Linked DNA regions of Homo sapiens: region 1 is linked to region 2. Evidence: promoter capture Hi-C in 16 types of primary human blood cells and fetal thymus (Javierre and others, 2016). All regions are on one chromosome and are shown on one strand. Each heading gives the region's core, a stretch centred on a gene start or on the middle of the fragment in contact. The rest is flanking DNA. Distances are from core to core; before and after follow the strand shown. Region 1 holds the start of RTF1 (RTF1 homolog, Paf1/RNA polymerase II complex component). Region 2 holds the start of KNSTRN (kinetochore localized astrin (SPAG5) binding protein).

Region 1 (5,966 bases), core at 894-3,393, 1.0 Mb before region 2:
CACATTTGTAGATGAAAAGACAGAAAAAAATAGATTCTACTCCTTCTAATTGCCAGTCTAAAATTATCTACCAATCAAACTTTTACAGTCGAAATTATACTTTTGATATTTTTGTAAACTTCAGGAGCCTTTCAATGAGAACATTTTCAATTCCTACCCCAAAACAAAGTTTCTATTCCTTAGATAGTCTTACACAGGCCCCATTACTTCTCCATCTCCCTACCACCATTTTCAAAGCAGTCTTCTTTCTACAGCACCTCCTCAATCCTTTTCTTCTTAAAAGTCCTCCCCTTGGCGGAGCTTGCAGTGAAGCCAAGATCGCACCACTGCACTCCAGCCTGGGCGACAGTGCGAGACTCCGTCTCAAAAAAAAATAAATAAATAAATAAAAAGTCCTCCCCTTTTATGCCTTAATACTTTCTTTTTCTTTCTTTTCTTTTTTTTTTTTTTTTTGTGATGGAGTTTCGCTCTTGTTGCCCAGGCTCACTGCAACCTCCGCCTCCCGGGTTCAAGAATTCTCCTGCCTCAGCCTCCCGAGTAGCTGGGATTACAGGCATGTGCCACCACGCCCCGCTAATTTTGTATTTTTAGTAGAGATGGGGTTTCTCCATGTTGGTCAGGCTGGTCTCGAACTCCCGACCTCAGATGAGCCTTGGCCTCCCAAAGTGCTGGGACTACAGGCGTGAGCCACCGCGCCCAGCCCCTAATACTTTCAAACTGAGACCTCTGGCTTCATATAAAAGACCCCCAAGAAGCCATTCATAGAAAAACTTTACAATTAGCAAATGCTTGCACTGCCATCAATTTTTACAAACACTTGATCTTTACAATAAACCAATTAGATACACAAGGCTGATGTTACATTTTCATTTTACATTTAAGACCAAAGATATATAGCTAGAAAATAGCATAAGCCCAGCCTAGAATTCAAATTTTCAGACTCCAAGTTCAATACTCTTTCTACTCAAAAGCTACTATCTCTTGCATATTCTTTCTTTACATCATTTGCTCATTAAACAGAAAGGAGACCATCTTTGTATCGCCTGGTATCACTAGAGCACTGCTACAAAGAGCAGATTCCTCCCTACAATGTTTTCTAGAGTATATAAACAGTTCAACCCCAAGACACTGAGGCCAAAAGTTACTTTCAGTGCTTCCTGCAGTCTTCAAGTAAGAAAGAATTCTGGGATGCTGCGTGAAAGGGCCAAGAGGAGGCCTGGGCTATGCACAGTCCCTCCATGTCGCCCTACATAGTTCTCTATTTCTTCCAGTATCTGCCCTCTTTCCTCCACCCAAGAGTGTTTTTTTGGGTCTGACACCTCAACAAGGGCCCTTCTCAAACACAAACGACCCTAGTCGCCAAATAAACTCGTGCCCACAGCTAAGTCATCCTTGGCAAGCATGGCAGAGGCTCCTAGGAACATTTACGAGTGTCCTTCCTCTGTCCACATCCCTTGTCCGAAAAACTTCCATCTTCCAGAGTCCGGATCTTCTTGGCCCTCGCCCCCAACTGCTCGACGCGCACCCTTGCACCTCCTCCAAAACCTCCCAGCCTCCCAGGTTGGCGGGCGATACTTCCTATCTCTCCCAGCCCGGATCTCCTGGACTACAGCCCGCCGCCCCGATCTGGCCCCGGAAGATCGCGGCCCCTTTCGCTACCCCCGAGCCCGAGGCCCAACGGCCCGGTCCCTGCCCCGCCTCCCCGCCCAAGGCGCCAAGTCCTCGGGGCTCCGTCTCCAGGCCCGGGCCGGTCTCCAAGGCCCCGCACACTCCAGGAAGACGGGAAAGGGGCTGTAGTGGTGCCCAGGGCACGGGGCGAGCTGGGCGCTCTGGTAGGAAGGCTCCAGGCCCGGCCGTCTCCGGCTCCCGCGGCCCCGACAGCCCTCTGGCTCCGCCGGCCCGCGCCTCCGCGGCCTGCCCTCACCTGATCCAGGTTCTCGTCGCTGCCGCTGTCCTCTGTGTCCGAGTCGATCACGACGCGGCCTTTCCGCTTCTTTACCATGGTGGTCCCCCGGCTCCCACGCCGGCCGCCGCCCGGACTCCCCTCTTGCCCGCCTGCCAGTGGGACCGCCACTGCCGCCGCCGCCGCCGCTGCTCGACCCACACAAAGGCGACCGCGCATGCGCGCTCCGCTCCGCCCCCCTGGCCCCGCCCCCTGCTCGCCGCACGCCGTTCGCAGGTCGCCGGGTGCCCCGCCCTGCCCCGCCCCCGACGCAGCGTGAGAGGCGGGGCCTTCCCCCGTCGCTGGTTCCCGGCAGAGAGTGGTGGTGGCTTTACCCGCGACTGCCCTGGAGTCCTTGGCTGTATCTCTGCTGCGGAGCCGAAGTTTGGTGGGCTCTCTTCCTATCGGGGGCTGGAGCCGCAAGGATCCAGGTTCTCTCTGAGGGGGCTCACGTGTCTACCTACTTTCAAGCTGTCCAACACTGATGGCGTGTACTTAAGGGGCCGACGGCCTGGAAGACATAAGTCGCCTGGACCACGCGGTGGACACCGGTTGGGGGCTGGAGACTGCCGACCCGGGCTGTGCGAATGACAGCTGAGCTGGGACCTGGAGAATGCATCTGAATTACCCAAAAGGAGAGTAGAGTGTTGCATGCAGAGAACAGCGTAGGCAAAATGGCCCGGCGATAATAAAGTTAGGTTCGGAGAACTGAAGTTAGTTATGGCCAGAGCAGAGATTGTGGGTGGGGATAGGCGACAGACCAGGCTGGAGAAGGACACGGCGACTGCCTCACTCAGATCCTAATAAGTAAGCTGAATTAGGGAGTTTGAACTTGAGTATTGAAAGATTTTAAACTGAAGAACCACATGATTTGATTTGTGTGTGGTTTTGTGTTTTAGTAGAGACGGGGCCTCCCTATATTGCCCAGGCTGGTCTCGAACCCCTGGGCCCAAGGGATCCTCCTGCCTTGGCCTCCCAAAGTGCTGGGATTACAGGCGTGAGCTACCGTGCCCAGCCTGATTTGTGGTGGTGTTTTTTTGTTTGTTTGTTTGTTTGTTCGTTTGTTTTGGAGACGGAGTCGCTCTTGTTGCCCGGCCTGGAGTGCAGTGGCAGCTCACTGCAACTCCGCTTCCCAGGTTCAAGCGATTCTCCTGCCTCAGCCTCCTGAGTAGCTGGGATTACAGGCTCCTGCCACCACGCCCGGCTAATTTTTTTTTTTTTTTTTTTTTTGAGACGGAGTTTCGTTCTTGTCGCCCAGGCTGGAGTGCAATGGCGCGATCTTGGCTCACTGCAACTTCTGCCGCCTGGGTTCAAGCGATTCTCCAGCCTCAACCTCCGGAATAGATGGCATTACAGACGCCCTTCACCACGCCCTGCTAATTTTTGTATTTTCAGTAGAGATGGGGTTTCAGCATGTTGGCCAGGCTGGTCTCAAACTCCTGGCCTCCGGTGATCCGCCCGCCTCAGCCTCCCAAAGTGCTGGGATTATAGGCATGAGCCACTGCACCCAGGCCTGATTTGTGTTTTTCAAAGATTACTCTGACCGCAGTATGGCGAATGGACTAAGGGCAGGGAGATCGCTTGGATTGTTGTTGTCTTCTTGGCAAGAGATGATGGTGTCCTGACCTAAGGACGAAGCTGTGGGAATGGAAAGAAGTGGATGGACTCTGGATAATTTGGAACGTAGAATCCCCAGGATTTGGGATAGGGGTAAGGGAAGGAGTGCTCCCAGATACCTATTGATGTTCAGATTCTAGCTTAGGAAGCTAGTGGCAGGTGAGCCCTTCATCAAAAAAATGAAATACAAGAGGAGAGAAGAAGGTTTTGGGAACTGGTGTGTATAGGAAATAAGTTTTTATACTTAAGTTTGAGGTCAGCTGATAAAAAGGTCAGCTCCAGAAGTTATTTCCTTTAGTGATTAGGAATATAAAGTAGGGGCCGGGCGTGGTGGCTCACACATGTAATCCCAGCACTTTGGGAAGCTGAAGAGGGCCGATCACCTGAGGGCAGGAGTTCAAGACCTGCCTGGCCAACATGGCAAAACCCCATCTCTACTAAAAATACAAAAATTAGGCCGGGCACAGTGGCTCACGCCTGTAATCCCAACTTTGGGAGGCTGAGGCAGGGGGATCACAAGGTCAGGAAATCGAGACCAGCCTGACCAACATGGTAAAACCCTGTCTCTACTAAAAATACAAAAATTAGCCGGGCATAGTGGCGTGTTCCTGTAATCCCAGCTACTTGGGAGGCTGAGGCAGGAGAATCACTTGAACCTGAAGGCGGAGGCTGCAGTGAGACGAAATCGTACCACTGCACTCCAGCCTGGCAACAGACGTGACTCTTTCTCAAAAATAATAATAATAATAATAATAATAATCTGGACCGGGTGCAGTGGCTCTTTCCTGTAACCCCAGCACTTTGGGAGGCTGAGGCAGGTGGATCACGAGGTCAGGAGCTCAAGACCAACTTGGCCAAGACAGTGAAACCCCGTTTCTACTAAAAATACAAAAATTAGTCAGACGTGGTGGTGGGCGCATGTATTCCCAGCTACTTGGGAGGCTGAGGCAGAGAATTGCTTGAACCTGGGAGGTGGAGGTTGCAGTGAGCTGAGATCGCGCCACTGCACTCCAGCCTGGGCAACAATAGCGAGCCTGTTCTCAAAAAAAAAAAAAGGAAAAAAGAAAATAATCGCACCACTGCACTTCAGCCTGGGTGACAAAGTGAGACCCTGTCTCAAAAAAATAAATAAATAAAACAACCTAAATAAAGTCCAACTACCTCTTTACCCTAGAAGAGTTTTCCTAAGATACAGCTCATAGACTTTTCTCCCCCGACATATCCTTGGAACCATGGCCAAGGTGACCCCGAATCACCAGCCCAGCTTCCGTATGTCTAGCCACCCTGAAGCCTGTGGTGCCCTTCTGGAGGACCCTCTTTAAATGTGTTAATACACAGTACTGCTAAAAAGGAAGCCATGACATGGTCAGTGGCCCTTGACTGGAATTAATAAAAGTATGTTCTTTGAGTGAAATCTGTAGATTTTGATCTTTCTGCAAGGGGTCTTCTAATGATTCACGTACTGAAGTTAGTCCGTATTGAGTCTAATCAATGTCTAAATTTAGTGAATAAACGTTGCTTTAAACTCCCTCTTGAGTCAGCTTCCCAGAGAACCCAACCAGTCAAAGTTTCCAATTAGTAAAATGAGGATAATGATAGTGTCTGTCTCTTTGGGTTCTTATAAGGTTTAAGTTTACAAAGCAGGCATGGAGGCACAGGTCTATGGTCCCAGTTACTTGGGAGGCTAAGGTAGGAGGATCGGTTGAGCCCAGGAGGTGGAATCCATCCTTGGCAACTTAGAGAAACCACGTCTCAAAAAAAATAGTAAGTTAGGCCAAGCCGAGTGTGGTGGCTCACGCCTGTAATCCCAGCACTTTGGGAGGCCGAGGCAGGCGGATTACCTGAGGTCAGGAGTTCAAGACCAGCCTGGCCGACATGGTGAAATCCCATCTCTACTAAAAATACAAAAAAAAAAAAATTAGCTGTGCATTGTGGCAGGCGCATGTAATCCCAGCTACCTGGGAGGCTGAGGCAGGAGAATCACTTGAACCCAGGAGGCGGAGTTGGAGTGAGCTGAGATCGCGCCATTGCACTCCAGCCTGGGCAACAAGAGTGAAATTCCATCTCAAAATTTAAAAAAATAATGATAATAATAAGTTAGGCCAGGCGGGGTGGCTCATGCCTGTAATCCTAGCACTTTGGGAGACCAAGGAGGGTGGATCACTTGAGGTCAGGAGTTCGAGACCAGCCTGGCTGATATGGTGAAACCCCGTCTCTACTAAAAATACAAAAATTCGCTGGGCGTGGTGGCACCCACCTGTAGTCCCAGCTACTCGGGAGGCTGAGGCAGGAGAATTGCTTGCACCTGGAAGGCGGAGGTTGCAGTGAGCTGAGATCACATCACTGCACTCCAGCCTGGGCAACAGAGCGAGACCTCATCTCAAAAAAAAAAAAAAAAAAATACTGT
Region 2 (6,504 bases), core at 464-2,963:
CAACCCATTAAGCCTTTGGAGAAAAGCCTATTTACTTCAGAGCTCAATCTTTTTTTTTTTGAGACGGAGTCTCGCTCTGTCGCCCAGGCTGGAGTGCAGTGGCGCAATATCGGCTCACTGCAAGCTCCGCCTCCCGGGTTCACGCCATTCTCCTGCCTCAGCCTCCCAAGTAGCTGGGACTACAGGCGCCCGCCACCACGCCCGGCTAAGTTTTTGTATTTTTTAGTAGAGACGGTGCTTCACCGTGTTAGCCAGGATGGTCTCCATCTCCTGACCTCGTGATCTGCCCACCTCGCCCTCCCAAAGTGCTGGGATTACAGGCGTGAGCCACCGTGCCTGGCCACTTCAGCGCTCCATCTTGCCAAGGTTTATGTACCAGCTGAGTGGAATCATCTGGGAAGGGATCATAAATAGCTACTCCATAATCTCCCACAACAGTTTTCTGATGTCTGAAGCTTACTCTGTACTATAATCTCTAGATTAGGCAGTTCCCCGACTGCAGACCCCATGAGATGACTTTCAACCACAAGCAAAGCAACACAAAGCAGATGGCAAAGCAATTAAAAACTATTTTTAATCATGTCTCTCTCTTCGCCCAAGTTTCTCAAATACTGTGCCTAGGTCTAACCCCTCTCTCCCACTTCACTCAACAAACGTGTATTGAGAATGTGGTAATGAGAAACACGGTGCAGATATAAAGGTGAACAAAGAACCCTAAGTATCCCACTTCTCAAATGATTCTCCTCTTTCCTCCCTGAAAACAAACCCAATCCCTCAAGATAGCCCAAGTCTGGAAATAAGACGATAACCGATTAGAAGGGGATTCCTAGCTTAATGGGAATAACATTGTACAATAACCAACAACTTGAATCTAACTGATGAATACAGTACACATGCGGGCAGAAAAGTGCAGAGCACGTCTAAAATCCTACCACATGGTCCTTCCCTTAACTCCCATCATAAACCTACATAGCCTGGTTATAGGGGGCTCACAGGTTTTCAGGGCCGACGGGACGCCCTTCCCCGTGCCCGCGCCACCCATTCGATCTCCACACTCCCGAGACCATCCCCGGCCAGGCCGCAGTGCCCCGGGCGTGGCTTGGACCCTCACCTGCCGGCTGGCCGCCGCTCAGCGCAGAGGGGGGCTGCAGGCTATACACTGTCTTAACCACACTGGTCATCGTAACGAGGCGGCACGGCTGAACCCTGGAAGGTACAGGATGAATGTTACCCAGCGCTGGGCCACTGGGCCCGAGAGAGTGGAGGGCCCGGGGATAGCGCGACCCGACAGGCCCCGGCTCGGGGTTGGAAAAGAGAAAATCCTCCTTTCCCAGCTCATTCCGTCCTTCCTCCCATCCAGCCCAGTCCCTCGCCCCGGGAGAGCCGAACCCAGGAGCCCGCCGGTCCTGCCCGCAGTCCTTCTCGCTCTCGTTTAAAAGATTCCCTGCAGCAACTGTCGTGCCACCGGCTAAGTCGGCCGCCTGGGTTTCAAATAGAAACTTCCGGTAGCTAGGCGGAAGTGGGTGGGAATCGCACTCTGTAGACAGCCATGTTGTACGGAAAACTCTGTCCAGGGGCGGGGCTTCGGGAGCCGCCATACTGTACGGAAGGTTCGCTCAGAGGCCAGAGCCAGACCTAGCGAAAGGTGTTGGAGCCCCCAGGTCTGGGCAGAGGAGGAGGGTGATGCAATTTGTAGGCTTGAATGGAGCTAATGAGCTACCAGCGTCATATTCCGGGATGGAGACGCAAACGTGGCGACATTTAGGGTCCATGTCACAATCCTCTTTATTTAGTTTGGGATTGTTAGGGATATTGCCAGGAGCACAGGTTATTTGGATGAAAACTACACGTTACAGGTGGAGAGTGGCAGGTGAGGCTTGAAGAAAAGGACCTATGGGCTGAGATACCTGAGGCACCTACCTGAGGTCCTAATTTTAATAGCACTTATCCAGATTTTCAGTAGTGATTCAAAGCTACTCCCAATAAACAGGGTAGCTTCCATTACTAAATGCACTAGCTCATTCATTTCATCTGGCATTTATTGAGTACCTGCTGATTACCCAACAGTGTTCTCAGTGGGTGGAAGGGAGTGAGGGAGGGCAAATATCAAGATTGACCTTGGCTCTGCCCTCCTGGAGTTTACAACTTAGAAAACAGACAGTGAACAAATAATCACATAAATAAATATATATTTACGGATTGTGGTGAAATTGTGAAGAAGGCTGGGCACAGTGGCTCACAGCTGTAATTATAGCACTTTGGGAGGTGGAGGCGGGTGAATTGCTTGAGTCCAGGAGTTTGAGACCACCCTGGGCGACATGGTGCAACCCCGTCTCTACAAAAAATACAGAAATTAGCCAGGTGTCGTGGCATGCTCCTGTAGTCCCAGCTACCCTGGAGGCTGAGGTGGGGGAATTATGTGACCCTGGGCGGGGCAGAGGTTGCAGTGAGCGGAGATCGCGCCACTGCACTTCACCCTGGGTGACAGAGCGTGATCTCAAAAATCAAACCAAAACACACACACTATGAAGAAAAAGTACAAAATCGTATAAGATAGAAAAGCAGGGAAACTTAGATTATATTGGGGGCTCAGGGAAGACCTCTCTGAGATGATGTTTGATTAAGGAAGGAGAGGGAGTTAATTTCATTGGGGAAAGGGGAAAATGCAAAGTCCCAAGGCAGAAATGGGTTCTTCTATAGGCACAGAAAGATAGGAAGAGAGTGGTACAGATAAAGCTGGAGAAATAAGCAGTCAAAAGACAGATTTTACAGGCCAAGGTATAGAGATTAGATTTTATCTAAAAGTAATGGAAAGCCACTGAAGTATTATAGCAGGAGAGTGTCATCCAATTTATATTTTATTTTATTTTATTATTATTTTTTGAGACAGGGTCTCACTCTGTTGCCCAGGCTGGAGTGCAATCATAGTTCACTGCAACCTTGAACTCCTGGGCTCAGGAGATCCTCCCACCTCGGCCTCCTGAGTAGCTAAGACTAAAGGTGCCTGCCACCAGACCCAGCTAATTTTTGTAGAGATGGGGTCCTGCTATGATGCCCAGGCTGGTCTTAAACCCCTGGCCTCAAATGATCCTCCCACTTCAGCCTCCCAAAGTGTTGGAATTACAGGCATGAGCCACTGTACCTGGCTCAATTTATATATACTTTATATATATATTCTTTTCTTTCTTTTTTTTTTTGGAGACGGAGTCTCACTCTGTTGCCCAGGCTGGAGTGCAGTGGCACGATCTCGGCTCACTGCAACCTCCGCCTCCTGAGTTAAAGCGATTCTCCTGCCTCAGTCTCCCGAGTAGCTGGGTCTACAGTGCCACCACCACGCTTGGCTAATTTTTTATATTTTTAGTAGAGACGGGGTTTCACCATGTTGGCCAGACTGGTCTCAAACTCCTGACCTCAGGTGATCTGCTCGCTTCGGCCTCCCAAAGTACTGGGATTACAGGCGTGAGCCACCACGCCCAGTCCTTTTTCTTTTCGAATAATTGGGCTTGAATAATTGTGTGGATAGAGTCACTATTTTCTGCTGGGGGAGATTGAGAGTTGGGTTTTGAACGTGGAAAACCTCGACATATCTTTGAGGCATTCCGGTGGAGTGGTCAAGTAGGCAATTGGAAATACAGGCCCTGAGCCCAGAAGAGAGCCTGGATTGGAGATACACCCTTGGGAGTTGTTGACATATGAATGTACTTAAAATCTTGATATTTAGGAGTTCGAGACCAGCCTGGCCAACATGATGAAACCCCGTCTCTGCTAAAAATACAAAAAAATGGCCAGGCACAGTGGCTCACACCTGTAATCCCAGCACTTTGGGAGGCTGAGGTGGGATCACTTAAGGCCAGAAATTCGAAACCAGCCTGGCCAACATGGTGAAACTCCATCTCTACTAAAAATACAAAAAACTAGCCAGGCATGGTGGTGCATGCCTGTAATCCCAGCTACTTGGGAGGCTAAGGCAGGAGAATGACTTGAACCTCAGAGGTGGAGGTTGCAGTGAGCCGAGATGGTGCCACTGTACTCCAGCCTGGGTGACAGAGCGAGACTCTGTCTCAAACAAAATAAAATAAAAAATAAAATAAAACCTTGATATTTGATGAGCTCAAGAGAAGAAGTGTGCAGAGAGCCTTTGGGCCAAGGACAGGGACACCTGCATTTAAAAGTTGCAATGGTAATAAGGTGCTTGCCAAGAAACCTGATAAAGAAGTGCCAGAGAGGTGAGAAGAAAACAAAAAAGGGTGGTGTTCCAAAATCCAAGGAGGAAGTGGCAAGCTGCTGAAGGAGGGAGTGGTGAACTATTGAAAATAGTTGAAAGGGCAAGCAGAATGAGAACGAAAAGCATCCAATGAATTTAGCAACAGAGAAGTCATGATGAGTCTAGCAAGAGGAATGCTGGTGGAGCGTTTGGAGTGGCAGTCACATGGGCATGGGTTGAAGAGTACGTGGGAGATGAGGAAGCAGAGATGGCAGAACTCCAGGCGTCTGTTGCAAAAAGAGCAGAGCAACTGGGCAGTAACTGGAGATGGGTTATGGGGGTCAAAGGAAGCTTTCCTTAAAGCTGTGGATATGTGTGCTGATAGGAACGAGCCAGCAGAACAGAGGGAAAGGATACTCAGGAGCAAGGAAGAAGGAAGATGGGATCCAGAGTAGCATCTTTAAATTCCTTTATTCATGCGCCCCCACAAAATAAAAAAATAAAAAAACCCTCTTGCCTGTTTTCACTTGATACCTAAAATTTAAGTTTACTTTTATTTTTATTTTTTTAGAGGCAGGATCTTGCTATGTCACCCAGGCTAGAGTGCAGTGGCTATTCACAGGTGTGATCATAGATAGCGTACTGTAGCCTTGAACTTCTGGACTCAAGCCATCCTCTCACTTCAGCCTCCTAAGTAGCCAAGACTGTAGGCATGCACTATCTCACCTGGCTTAAATTTTTTTCATAACTTTAAATCATTGTAAAGGACATACTTTCTGCCTGTTGTATATTGTGTATACTTTTTTTCTTTTTTTTTGAGATACGGTCTCGCTTGGTTTCCCAGGCTGGAGTGCAGTTGTGCGATCATAGCTCACTGCAGCCTTCAACTCTTGGGCTCAAGCGATCTTCCTGCCTCAGCGTCCCAAGTAGTTGGGGCTATAGGCACGTGCCACCATGCCTGGCTAATTTTAAAATTTTTTTGTGGAGATGAAGTCTTGCTATGTTGCCCAGGCTGGTCGGGAGCTCCTGGCCTCAACTGATTCTCCCACCTTGGCCTCCCAAAGTGCTGAGATTACAGGCATGAGCCACCCACCTGGTCACATTGTGTATACTTTGTATTCTTTTCTTTTTTCTTTTTTTTTTTTTTTTTGAGATGGAGTCTCATTCTTTTGCCCAGGCTGGAGTGCAGTGGTGCCATCTCGGCTCATTGCAACCTCTGTCTCCCGTACTCAAGCGATTCTCCTGCCTCAGCCTCCTGAGTAGCTGGGATTACAGGCATGCACCACCACACCAGGCTAATTTTTGTATTTTTAGCAGAGACAGGGTTTCACCATGTTGGCCAGGGTGGTCTCGAACTCCTGACCTCAGGTGATCCGCCCGCCTCAGCCTCCCAAAGTGTTGGGATTACAGGCATGAGCCACTGCGCCTAGCCCTTTGTATTCATTTCTAAAATTCTTTCTCTTGGTGTTTTTTGGATAATTTCTATTGTTATGTCTTCAAGTGCACTACTGTTTTTTCTGCAACGTCTAAACTGTTGTTAATTCCATTCAGTGATTTTCCATCTCAGACTTTTTTTTTTTAATTTTAAAAACACTTTTAAATTCTTTATTTTGGAATCGTTATAATTGACAGGAAGTTACAATGATAGTATAGGGAGGTCCTTTGGACTCTTTACCCAGTTTCCCCCAATGGTTTTGTTTCAGTACAATTTTAACAGCTTTATTGAGATATAATTAACATTCCATAGACCACATATTTTAAGTGTACAATTTGATAAGTTTAGAAATTACATATACCTGTGAAACCATCACCACAATTAAGATAATAAACACAGCCGTCATCCCCAAATCATTCCTCCTTCCCCTTGGTACTTCTTCCCATCCTCCTCTTTCTGCCTACCCCACCCACCCCATCATCTCAGACATTTTAGTTTTCGTCTCTAAAATTCAAAGTGGGTATTTAAAAATATCTTCCTAGTCTCTACTTAGTACATATGGAATACAGTTATAATAATTCTTTTAGTGTCCTTGTCTAATTCTCACATAGGTGTCAGCTGTAGTGGTTTCAACTGATTTTTCTCCTTATGATGGGTTATAGTTTGCATGACTGGTAATTTTTTATTGGAAAACCAGCCATTGTGAATTTTACATTTTTGGGTGCTCGTTAATTTTGGATTTCTGTTAATGTTCTTGGGTTTTGTTCTGGGATACACTTCAGTTACTTAGAAACAGCTTGATTCCTGAATTCAGGTCTTGCTTTTGAGATTTGTTAGGTAGGTTCCAGCAATGTTTAAACTAGGG

Evidence for each region. The method cuts DNA at HindIII sites, captures the fragments that hold promoters and counts their contacts. A CHiCAGO score of 5 or more calls a contact.
Region 1: a contact is called between the fragment with the promoter of RTF1 here and the fragment with the promoter of KNSTRN in region 2, in 1 of 17 cell types (neutrophils). The highest score is 5.3, in neutrophils.

Annotation. Positions count from the first base shown.
Region 1 is chr15:41,413,272-41,419,237 of GRCh38, reverse strand. RTF1 (RTF1 homolog, Paf1/RNA polymerase II complex component) reads right to left here and starts at 2,143. Exons shown (of 18, transcript NM_015138.5): 1 at 1,925-2,143. The coding sequence starts at 2,122. RefSeq lists a silencer at 1,664-2,253 and an enhancer at 2,314-2,413. The HindIII fragment of the contact is 7,291 bases long and covers 1-5,966 here.
Region 2 is chr15:40,377,930-40,384,433 of GRCh38, reverse strand. It overlaps KNSTRN (kinetochore localized astrin (SPAG5) binding protein), which reads right to left and starts at 1,713. Exons shown (of 9, transcript NM_033286.4): 1 at 1,390-1,713; 2 at 1,112-1,206. The coding sequence starts at 1,598. DISP2 (dispatched RND transporter family member 2) reads right to left here. Exons shown (of 8, transcript NM_033510.3): 8 at 5,813-6,504. RefSeq lists enhancers at 635-1,156, 1,222-1,391, 1,157-1,680, 1,640-1,709, 2,335-2,835. The HindIII fragment of the contact is 4,100 bases long and covers 458-4,557 here.